Regions from separate parts of the Homo sapiens genome. Here region 1 is linked to region 2. Evidence: promoter capture Hi-C in human tissues and cell types (Jung and others, 2019). All regions are on one chromosome and are shown on one strand. Each heading gives the region's core, a stretch centred on a gene start or on the middle of the fragment in contact. The rest is flanking DNA. Distances are from core to core; before and after follow the strand shown.

Evidence for each region. The method cuts DNA at HindIII sites, captures the fragments that hold promoters and counts their contacts. A contact is called where the count stands out against the background at its distance.
Region 1: a contact is called between a fragment that was not itself captured here and the fragment with the promoter of SGCB in region 2, in 1 of the 25 tissues and cell types used here (bladder).

Annotation. Positions count from the first base shown.
Region 1 is chr4:51,981,037-51,987,002 of GRCh38, reverse strand. No RefSeq gene overlaps it. Among named protein-coding and RNA genes, the nearest start is that of LRRC66, 36 kb to the left of the region's middle. The HindIII fragment of the contact is 3,172 bases long and covers 2,049-5,220 here.
Region 2 is chr4:52,034,785-52,041,260 of GRCh38, reverse strand. SGCB (sarcoglycan beta) reads left to right here and starts at 2,962. Exons shown (of 6, transcript NM_000232.5): 1 at 2,962-3,034. The coding sequence starts at 3,002. RefSeq lists a silencer at 2,750-3,189 and an enhancer at 3,430-3,549. The HindIII fragment of the contact is 15,508 bases long and covers 789-6,476 here.

The DNA of each region.
Region 1 (5,966 bases), core at 2,385-4,884, 55 kb after region 2:
AGGTACAAGGAGGAGCTGGTACCATTCCTTCTGAAACTATTCCAATCAATAGAAATAGAGGGAGTTCTCCCTAACTCATTTTATGAGGCCAGCATCATCCTGATACCAAAGCCTGGCAGAGACACAATGAAAAAAGAGAATTTTAGACCAATATCCCTGATGAGCATCGAAGCAAAAATCCTCAATAAAATACTGGCAAACTGAATCCAGCAGCACATCAAAAAGCTTATGCACCATGATCAAGTGGGCTTCATCCCTGGGACTAAGGCTAGTTCAACATATGAAAATGAATAAATGTAATCCAGCATATAAACAGAACCAAAGACAAAAACCACATAATTATCGCAAAAGATGCAGAAAAGTCCTTTGAAAAAATTCAACAGCCCTTCATGCTAAAAACTCTCAATAAATTAAGTATCGATGGGACATATCTCAAAATAATAAGAGCTATTTATGACAAACCCACAGCTAATATCATACTGAATGGGCAAAAACTGGAAGCATTCCCTTTGAAAACTGGCACAAGACAGGGATGCCCTCTCTCACCACTCATATTCAACATAGTGTTGGAAGTTCTGGCCAGGGCAATCAGGCAGAAGAAAGAAATAAATGGTATGCAATTAGGAAAAGAGGAAGTAAAATTGTCCCTGTTTGCAGATGACATGATTGTATATCTAGAAAACCCCATTGTCTCAGCCCAAAATCTCATTAAGCCGATAAGCAACTTCAACAAAGTCTCAGGATACAAAATCAACGTACAAAAATCACAAGCATTCTTATACACCAACAACAGACAAACAGAGAGCCAAATCATGAGTGAAATCCCATTCACAATTGCTTCAAAGAGAATAAAATACCTAGGAATCCAACTTACAAGGGATGTGAAGGACCTCTTCAAGGGGAACTACAAACTACTGCTCAACAAAATAAAAGAGGACACAAACAAATGGAAGAACATTCCATGATCATGGATAGGAAGAATCAATATCGTGAAAATGGCCATACTGCCCAAGGTAACTTATAGATTCAATGCCATCCCCATCAAGCTACCAATGACTTTCTTCACAGAATTGGAAAAAACTACTTTAAAGTTCATATGGAACCAAAAAAGAGCCCACATTGCCAAGTCAATCCTAAGCCAAAAGAACAAAGCTGGAGGCGTCACATTACCTGACTTCAAACTATACCACAAGGCTACAGTAACCACAACAGCATGGTATTGATACCAAAACAGAGATATAGACCAATGGAATAGAACAGAGCCCTCAGAAATAATACCACACATCTACAACTATCTGATCTTTGACAAACCTGAAAAAAACAAGAAATGGGGAAAGGAATCCCTATTTAACAAATGGTGCTGGGAAAACTGGCTAGCCATATGTAGAAAGCTGAAACTGGATCCCTTCCTTACACCTTACACAAAAATTAAGTTGAGATGGATTAAAGACATAAATGTTAGACCTAAAACCATAAAAACCCTAGAAGAAAACCTAGGCAATACCATTTAGGACATAGGCATGGGCAAGGACTTCATGTCTAAAACACCAAAAGCAATGGCAACAAAAGCCAAAATTGACAAATGGGATATAATTAAATGAAAGAGCTTCTGCACAGCAAAAGAAACTACCATCAGAGTGAACAGGCAACCTAAAGAATGGGAGAACAATTTTGCAATCTACTCATCTGACAAAGGGCTAATATCCAGAATCTACAAAGAACTCAAACAAATTTACAAGAAAAAAAACAATGCCATCAACAAGTGGGCGAAGGATATGAACAGACACTTCTCAAAAGCAGACATTTATGCAGCCAACAGACAGATGAATAAATGCTCATCACCACTGGCCATCAGAGAAATGCAAAGCAAAACTGCAATGAGATACCATCTCACACCAGTTAGAATGGTGATCATTAAAAAGGATGTGAAGGACCTCTTCAAGGGGAACTACAAACCACTGCTCAATGAAATAAAAGAGGATACAAACAAATGGAAGAACATTCCATGCTCATGGGTAGGAAGAATCAATATCCTGAAAATGGCCATACTGCCCAAGGTAATTTATAGATTCAATGCCATCCCCATCAAGCTACCAATGACTTTCTTCACAGAATTGGAAAAAAATACTTTAAAGTTCATATGGAAGCAAAAATGAGCCCACATTGCCAAGTCAATCCTAAGCCAAACGAAAAAAGCTGGAGGCATCACGCTACCTGACTTCAAACTATACCACAAGGCTACAGTAACCAAAACAGCATGATACTGGTACCAAAACAGAGATATAGACCAATGGAACAGAGCAGAGCCCTCAGAAATAATGCCACATATCTACAACTATTTGATCTTTGATAAACCTGACGAAAACAAGAAATGGGGAAAGGATTCCTTATTTAACAAATGGCGCTGGGAAAACTGGCTAGCCATATGTAGAAAGCTGAAACTGGATCCCTTCCTTACACCTTATACAAAAATTAAGTCAAGATGGACTAAAGAATTAAATGTTAGACCTAAAACCATAACAACCCTAGAAGAAAACCTAGGCAATACCATTCAGGACATAGGCATGGGCAAGGACTTCATGTCTAAAACACCAAAAGCAATTGGCAACAAAAGCCAAATTGACAAATGGGATCTAATTAAACTAAAGAGCTTCTGCACAGCAAAAGAAACTACCATCAGAGTGAACAGGCAACCTACAGAATGGGAGAACATTTTTGCAATCTACTCATCTGACAAAGGGCTAATATCCAGAATCTACAAAGAACTCCAACAAATTTACAAGAAAAAAACAACCCCATCAAAAAGTGGGCAAAGGATATGAACAGACACTTCTCAAAAGAAGACATTTATGCAGCCAAAAGACACATGGGAAAATGCTCATCACCACTGGCCATCAGAGAAATGCAAATCAAAACCACAATGAAATACCATCTCACACCAGTTAGAATGGTGATCATTAAAAAGTTGGGAAACAACAGGTGCTGCAGAGGATGTGGAGAAATAGGAACACTTTTACACTGTTGGTGGGACTGTAAACTAGTTCAACCATTGTGGAAGACAGTGTGGTGATTCCTCAGGGTTCTAGAACTAGAAATATCATTTGACCCAGCCATCCCATTACTGGGTATATACCCAAAGGAATATAAATCATGCTGCTATAAAGACACATGCACACGTATGTTTATTGCAGCACTACTTACAATAGCAAAGACTTGGAACCAACCCAAATATTCAACAATGATAGACTGGATTAAGAAAATGTGGCTCATATACACCATGGAATACTATGTAGCCATAAAAAATGATGAGTTCATGTCATTTGTAGGGACATGGATGAAGTTGGAAACCATCATTCTCAGCAAACTATTGCAAGGACAAAAAACCAAACACTGCATGTTCTCATTCATAGGTGGGAATTGAGTAAGGAGAACACTTGGACACAGGAAGGGGAATATCACACCCCAGGGCCTGTTGTGGGGTTGGGGGAAGGGGGAGGGATAGCATTAGGAGACATACCTAATGTAAATGAAGGCTTAATGGGTGCAGCACACCATTAACGTTGTGCACATGTACCCTAGAACTTAAAGTATAATAATATATATGTATATAAAGTATATGCATATATATAAAATAAAAAAATAAAAAATAAAAATCTGTGTACCACACTGGGTACCTGTATACAAAACAAACAAACAAACAACAACAACAGAAAACAAATCTCTGAGAACCGGGAGTGCTGATGTCTAAGAGCAGGAGGAGATAATGTCTCAGCTCAATAAGACAGAGGAAAGCCCTCTTTTCTCCACCTTTTTGTTCTATTTAGGCCCTCAATGGATTGGGTGCTGCCCACCCACATAGGTGAGAGAAAGCTTTATTTGGCTGCTGACTCAAATGCTAATCTCTTCCAGAAACACCTTCACAGACACACCCAGAAACCATGTTTTACCAGCCATCTGGGCATCCCTTACCCATCAAGTAGGCACATAAAATTGACGATCACACCTCCTGCCCTACATCCCTTTACTATTCCCCACACTGCAGCCAGGGGGTGGTTTCTAAAATGCAAATATGATTATGTGGCTTCCCTGAGTAGAGTCCATCCATTGGCTATAGGTTTTTCTGTTTCCCTAAAGCTCCACATGTAACTGAAACACAGGTTCGGTCACTCACCACCTGCAGAGTCCAATTAACAAGATTGAGTCTGGTATAAAGAAAGTGACATTATTCCACAGCATAGCTTAGGGGAAGAAGTACAGGCTCCTGCCTTTAAGGATATCACTTTACTTTTGGGCAGAAAGCAGAGGCTTTTAAGCAGGGACTTGGCATGAATGGCATGCAGGAGAGGGAGAAAGCAGGTGTAGGGTCTGCATGACTCGCTTTGATGCCATAACTACCGAGCTGGCACCATCGTGGGCAGAGCTAGGTTGTAAGGTGGCCACTGTCTTGAGATCCACTCCAGGTGAAAGAGAGCTCTGTTGCGGGGCACTTCAGGTTGTAAATTGACTGTTGTCTCTTGAGGCCATCTCCTGGTGGGAGAATTCCCTCTCTGGTGCATAGTTATTAGGTTGGTGCAAAAGTAATTGTTGTTTTTGCCATTACTTTTGCCAAATTACTCTGGCACCAACCTAATAGATAAGCTTGCTCTGTAGGAAGTGTCTGGCGAAGGGAAGGTAAAGGTTATAATTTCATTTCTAAAGAGCTAAGAAGTGAGGAACAAGGGAAAAGGGGGAAAGAGAAAAGAAGGAAAACAATAAAACATAACCCATTCTTTTTCTCTTAGAAAAGAGGGGGTACTTGGTTATACACATGCCTGTCCATCTCCCCGCCCTTGCCCATGTTCCTCCTGCCCAAAGCGCTTTTTCACAAACAAGCCCTCCTTTAGCTGACACGCTCCCACTTAGGTCTCCGCTGTGTTGTCACCTCCTCAGGGAAGACGTCTCAGATGCCTCACTAAGTTAGATTTCCCTATTACAAATTCTGTCATTACACAGCATTGGCCTTTCTATAGGAGAGCTTATCACAAGTAAAATTAAATAATTAGTCATATGATTAGGTTTAATGTCTGTCTGCCCCTTTAATACTGTAAGTGCCACACAAACAAAAAAATTGTGTCTATCTCCCCAAGACTTGGCACTGAGTAGGTTCTTAATACATGCATTCATTAAATAAATGAAAGAGCAAACTTTAGTACAGTGTACAAGGACATCTAGCATCTGTCCCTGCTTACCACCCAGCTTGTATTTCATGGTGCTTTGCCCCATTCCTAACATCCAAAGTTCATGCCAGTGCACCAAGTGTAACTGCTTGCAGTTACAAACTCACCAGTCTATATCATTTCACCATGTCTTGGCCCGTATTGCTGCCTGCTTTCTGGGTGGTACCTCTGGCCTCCCCACCAAGTCCCATCTCATCTGCCTGGTGAGTATCTACTCTTCTTTGAATAAGCTGTTTATGGATTATTTCCTCCATGAGCTTTTCTCACCTCATTCCACCCAAGTAGAATCTACCACTTCCTTCTTCCCTGGGGTCTCCACTGTACCGTTTTGTGTATTACAGAAGAAACAGGGCTTCACATGACTTTACTGAGATCTGCTAGAGACTCTTCTATTGGCCAACTTCCAACTCAGGTGAAATTCAGTTTTGCCAAGAGTTTACTCCCAATGTGGAGTCCATAAAGTCATCTCAGAGCTGGTAAGTATTTCATAGAGTGAAAAATTACCTCCTATTCCATCAACACAGAGAAAAGAGGAATATACCGCATTCACTATTTTTGTTTGTTTTGTTTAGACTTCCAAAAGAAGCTTCTGGTAGCATGGCATAAATGTCACAGTTTATATGTAGGTGTTGCAGATTTCTCAGTAAGCCTCTTGTTTCTTGCAAAAACAAATTTTAAAAATCTTTGTCAATATGCCTGCCATAAGCTTGGCTAAAATTGCTTGATGTGAGTGATATTTGAAGCCTTCCA
Region 2 (6,476 bases), core at 1,713-4,212:
AAGCGTATATCTGCTCCATCCCTCTTTCTTAGCTTCTGGTAGCGGTTGGCAATTATTGGTATTCCTTGCCTAGTAGAGTGATCACTCCAATCTCTGCTTCTATGTTCATATCATCTTAGTGTATGTTGCCATTCTGTCCTCTTATAAGGATAAGGGCTCATCCTAAATTCAGAGTGATCTCAAGATCCTTAAAAACATCTGTCTTAGTTCATTTGGGCTGCTATAACAGAATATGGACTAGGTGGCTTATAAACAACAGAGCTTTATTTCTCACAGTTTTGGAGGTTGGGACATCCAAGATCAACATGCTTAGAGATTTAGTGTCTGGTGAAGGCCTGTTTCCTGATTCATAGATGTCACTGTGTCCTCACATGGTGGAAGAAACAAACCAATTCTCTTGGATCTATTTTATAAAGGCACTAATCCTATTCATGAGAACTAATCATGAATAGTGATAGCTAATCACCCATCATTTCCTTCTATGATGTGAATGTGTCCCCAAAAATTCATGTTCGGAAATTTAATCTCCAATGCAACAGCATTGGGTGGTGTTGCCTTTTGAGAGCTGTTCAGGTCATAGGGGCTTGGCATTCCTCCCCTCAGGATGACAAGGTGTTCAAGGTAACATCCTGGAAACAGAGACCAGACCCTCATCAGACAACTGAACCTGCTTGGACTTCTCAGCCTCCAGAACTGTGGGAAAATAATTTTTTGTGCTTTATAAATTCTTCACTCTCAGATGGTCTGTTATAGAAGCACAAAGTGGACTAAGTCAGCTTCTAAAGGCCCTACCTCCTAATATCATCACACTGGGGGCTAAGATTTCCACATGTGAAATATTCAGGGGAGACACAAACATTCATTCTATAGCAATCTGCAAAGACTCTGTTTCAAAGTAACACCACGTTCACAGATACTGGAGGTTAGGACTTGGATATGCCTTTTTGCAGGGCACTATTCAAACCACTGCAAAGTGAACAAAGGTGTAAGTGTCTTCATAATCTGACTCATACTCCAGCCCTGGGGACCTGTGTTTTGTGCTTCCAAATGCTAATATCATGCAACAGTCAAAAGAAAGAGCAAAATTAAAGGCTGTGATGTATGGTAGAAAGAGCAAAGACTAGTCAGATGGACCTAGATTCAATACTGGCTCTTTAGGAGTTGAAAAGATGGTCAGCCATTTAACCTCTACAAGCCTTGATTTCTTCATTTGTAAAAGAGGCATTGCCAGGCACAGAGTTGACTTTAAATGTCATTATTTCAGGGGAAAAAAGGCTGACAATAGTACATTTGAAAATAACCCACATTAAAATGTGGTCATGTGAGTGAATTGGATCTCTTTAAAAGAGAATAGAAATTGGCATTAAGAATAGTGGGATGTCCTGTCAGAGATGGACATCAGCGATGAGGAAAGAATCCAAGAGAAGGTGATATTCAAATAGCCAAAGGAGCATTTGGTTTCAGGAAAATTGGCTACCAGGTATCTCACCACCTAAGTGGGAGGGAGGTTGGCAAAATCAAGTCAGGGCTTAGAAATTGGGATACTGGGCAGATTTCTAAGATATCTATTAAGTTTAATTACTGTGCTAGACATTGGAGATTAAACGATGAGTAAGACACCTACCTTCCAGATAGAACACACCATCTTTTGAATGAAATCAGCAGGTAGACAAGATAAAAATACAATGCAATCTGAAGTGCTAGAAAAGGCTAGGCACACAGTTAAGGAACAGATCTGTGGGAGCCTCTGAAGCCTTTAGAGAAAATATGACGTTTGAATAGAATAGTTCTTGAAGGATGAATAAGAGTGCGCGTGCCAGGGAAGAAGAACTTTCCCAGCAGAGAGAAAAACGCAAAGCTTAGGAATTAAGGACTAGAAGATAGGAACTCAGAATCAGTTAAAAGCCCAGTTGTGCAAATTGATCAATGAGACCACAGGCAGAATATTAACACAGAGCCTTACTGCTGACTCCTGCATCATTGGGCTTTAACTTAGAATTTTCCTGCCTAAAATGCATGTTTGTCCCACAGACTCAGAGAGGAGTGAGTCTAGAGATATGAGTCAAGTGGTTCCAGCATTTAGGAAAAAAGAAATGCAGAGAGACTGATGACCAGCTAGGTACTGACTCCCACTGAATTAGACAGTACTAGGGCCCAAAGGTGCTTATTAGAAGTGATTCAGCTACATGAGGAACAGTTGCTATTGACTTCACTGCATTTTTTTTCAGCTAAAATAATTATTGGATTATATCTACAACAGGGAACAATGAATGTCTACTCAAGTAACTCGTACATTTGAGTGGCTTCCCGGTGTTCAGTAAATGTCCGTTCAATTAGGTTCCCGAGGATATACATGGTAACACTATCTCCAACACTAAATGAAAAATCCATCCCCAGTATCGCAGGATAAAAACATCAGACTTCATAGGCCTCCGAAGTCAAGCAGCCCGAAGGATTCAACGTCCTCCTTGAGGACTCTCAGTCTTCAAGACTCCAGCCACCTAAGTGACCACTCGTTCACTTCTGCCCACGCAGTCACCACGCCGGTCCGCGTCCACTTGTGGTCTCGATATCGGCCCCTCCCACCCTAGCCAAGGAGACCTTGGTCCGAGAAACAAAGAGAGCCTCACAGCTCCGGATGGCACCGATCTTTCAGCGATGGGGAACAAAGGGGAAGGGGAGAAGCGTCCTCGATTTTTGAGGGTGCCCTTTCTGAGGAATCTGCAGGCGGCCCGGGGTGGAGCGGAATCCCCATAGGCCCCTTCTGGCCCCTGTGCAATACAACGCGCCCCAGGCCAAGGTCCTAGGTGCAGGGGCCGCCGCAGAGCCTGAGCCCGCAGGGCTGGGATGCGGGTCGTCAGGGATGCGGGCTGGGGAGGGGAGGGTGTGAGCAGCGGGTGCCCCCAGTCCCCGCCAGGGCGCAAGCGCAGGCGCGCAGGGTGCGGTCGCGGAGGGGCGGGCACAGTCGGGCGGGGAGCTCGGCGGCGGCGGGCGCGGGAAGATGGCGGCAGCGGCGGCGGCGGCTGCAGAACAGGTCTGTGAGTACCGCCGCGGCCGCGGGCTGGAGGAGCGGGGGAGGCCGCGTCCTGCCGGCTGGGCCCGCGGGAGCCCTGGCCGGGGGTGCGGGGGGCGCGGGCCGCAGGGTCTGGGTTCGGCGGGGCCGATCGGGGCGGGGCGGGGCGGGAGGAGCTGTGCCCCGCCGAGGATGCTGGCACAAGCTAGGGACCAGGAGCCAGGGGCGGCCTCGGGCTCGGCCCGGCCTGGCTGATCCTCGGAGGGGGTGAGGAGGGGTCTCCTTCCGGAGAGCCTGGGAGGCGGTCGAGCCAGCCTGGAAGCCTGCGCTGGGACGTGCCAGGGACGTACCCCGTTCAGCCGCCAGCAGAGATTTGGATAAAAATAACCGCAGCCCCAGCGAGAAGGCTCCTCTTACAAGAAACGGGTCAGCTGTTGCCCCGGTGTCAGCTTGCCATCTTTGTTTTTTGTTTCTGCCATCTCCAATATGCAGACATCCCAGATTTCCCCTCACGCTTTGGTTTTTGAAGATTTAGTCACCAGTCTAAAACTATCTCCTGTTCACTTTTAAAAATGATTTATCCAAGATTTCCTGACCTGCATTGTAAACTTGTAACTTAGAATGGTTTAAAAGGCTCCTCATCCCCCCAAAATCTAGTTATACGTATGCATACATGTACATGCATATGTGTGTGTGTTAATATATACATACACGTAATCGCTAGGGTGATTTATTGTAATACAGATAATTTTCAGTAACTTTCCCCCTTACCTAACTTACTTTTCCTTTGAACAATTATAGTAGTTTCTCTTTAAAAAGTCTCATTCTAAAACATTGTTGAAAAAAATGAGTCAAGTTTTGACCTTTGGAACGATTTTCTTAGATAATTAACTTTTTAGAGACCTATTAGATATATGTCACTGGAGGGCTCATTCTGAAGATAAAAGACGTAAAATCTCTCTTCAAGGAGCTTAAAGTCATACAGCCAAATACATGCAGAAAAAATCAGCTAAAGACAATAGGCAGGCTGCAGATTTGTAACAGTAAAATAAAACATAGAGGAATGAGTGAAACTGAAAGGAGACAAAACTTCTTGGAGTTGGTATTTAAATTGTGCCTTGGCTTTCCTCATTTCCCGCCTAAGTTATCAGCTTCTGTTTCAGATGATTGTTTTTCCATCTGGTTCTATTTTTGCTTTACACATAAGTGGGGCAGTCTGATCCGTTACTCAGTCTCCACTTCAAATTTACGCATTACGTCTCCAGCCCTGAACTTAACTGAATTTTCCATAGGCACCTCAAACTCAAAAATGTTCAAAACTGGACTCTGTCATACTTACTATTAAAAAGGCTACAACCATCCATTCACTTGTTTAACCTAGCCAGAAACTTAGGACCAAGGCCATTTTAAGGGAGCTGAGAAGGACCTGCACTTGGTTTAATGTTCTGCTGTCCTGGGCTTGAGATTTAAACAGTGAGCCCCACATTTTCTTTTCCCCCTGGGCCCCACAAATTATATAGCCAGTCCTATTTGGGAGTCATCTTCGACCCCTTTGTGCCACACTCATATCCAAACAATCACGAGATCCTGACAGTTCTACCTCTTAACACCTTTCCCCAGACTTCAGCTTCAAAGTCAAACCTCAGTCAGTACCTCATTGGGACTCTTAGAGAAACCTGCTGTTGATATCTTCACTTCTAGGCTCTTCAGTTCCAGTTCATCTCTTTTTGGAGTGATTTTACTACAATGCAAATCTGATTGTATAGGAAACCTATTTTAACTCTTCAGTAGTTCCCCTTTGCCTTCAGGATAAAGTCCATTGTTCTTGTCATGGTATTTATGTTGCTTACTGGCCCCTAAGCACATCTCTCATTGTATTTCTTGCTTCATCCCTACACCTATCCTTCTCACCATCCACATAAAGTGACCAAAATTAGTTCTCCCAGAGATGGTTGCCTCTCAAAGTCTCCATGCTTCTTCCTCTGCCTAGAGTGACCTTCTTAGCTCTTTTGCCTGGTTAACTCCTGTCCATCCTTCAAGAGTTAACTCAACCTTCAGCTTTTCTTAGAAACTTTCCCTGATGCCCTTGCCTGCTAGGTGGAGATGCATTCCTCTTCTGTACCCTTTCTGTATTGTATGCATTGCTCCACTACAGCACTTGTCATGCTTTGTGAACTGTTAGTCACCTTGTCTGTCTACCTGACTGGCCTGTAATTAAGCTCCTTGAGGGTGGACACTATGTTCATCCTGGTAGCTTGGAGCACCTGGCTTATAGTAACTATTCAATAAATGTTAAATGCATCAAGATGAAGACAGTAATGTGCATGGTTTGGCAGAGAAGAGTAAAGACTACGTCTCAGGAGGGATGAATTTTGTCCTTTCTCTCTTTTATGTGGACCTATATTCAAACTTTGGCTAACACTTTTAAGTTGCCCATCTGTTAGGGCTGTCAGAAGCCTGAGGTTCTTTTTTGGAACCTGACTACAAATTCTGTTAAGTCTTCTCTTAAAGTATCTACTTAATCTCTCCTTTTTCATCCCACTTTAGTTTAGGTCCTCTTAACCTCAATCCTCCATTACTACAACATCCCCAGCAGCTTACTTACTGGTACTCCTCTTTCTTCTCTCTCGTACAAATGCCCACACCTTTAACACTCTGAATTTGTGCTCAAAAACCTCCAGTGACTCCCAATTAAATAGAACATAAAGACTAGAATTTGTACCCTGCTGTCCAAGAACCTTCACAACCTGGCCCTACTTTTCCAACTTCCTCTTCCCTGCCTTGCCATATCTGACCCATCTACTTCTCCCCATTTCCCTAACAACTCCAGGTCATCCTGTCTCTCCTCCCTTTGAACTCTGCAGTGTGTATTGCCTAGACTATTGATTTTGGCACCTGAACATACAGAGTGCTTTATTGCATTGTTAAATATTTTATGTTAACATGTACACAAATCATATCTGTTAATACATAGAGGATAAGGACCCTTTCCTATAGTTCTTTTGTATTCCTATCTATGGAATTAGTGTTTAAGCGTAAAGTGCTTAATACATGCGTATTCAACAACTGAATTTTCTCAGAGCTTTAAGAAATAAGTAGGACAGTATCCATTTCTGCCCATTTCTTTTGTGCTCTTGATATTCAAGATTATTACCCAAAATGTCATTCAACCATAGTCTAGGTCAGAGGTTCTCAAATCATTTTGGTCTCAGGTTCTCTTTACACTCTTAAAAAATGGAGGATTCCAAAGAGCTTTGGTTTATGTGGGTTATATTCATTGATATTTACTATAGGAGAAGTTAAAATGGAGAAATTTTTAAAGTACAGGGCTATACAAGCATACATTCTGTTGAGTGATGATGCCATCACATTGGTCATGTAGCCTTTACATTCATGGGCCTAGGAGAGTAAAAACAGCAAACAGTATCTCAGTGTTATTTCAAAAATACAGCCCCCCAAAGGG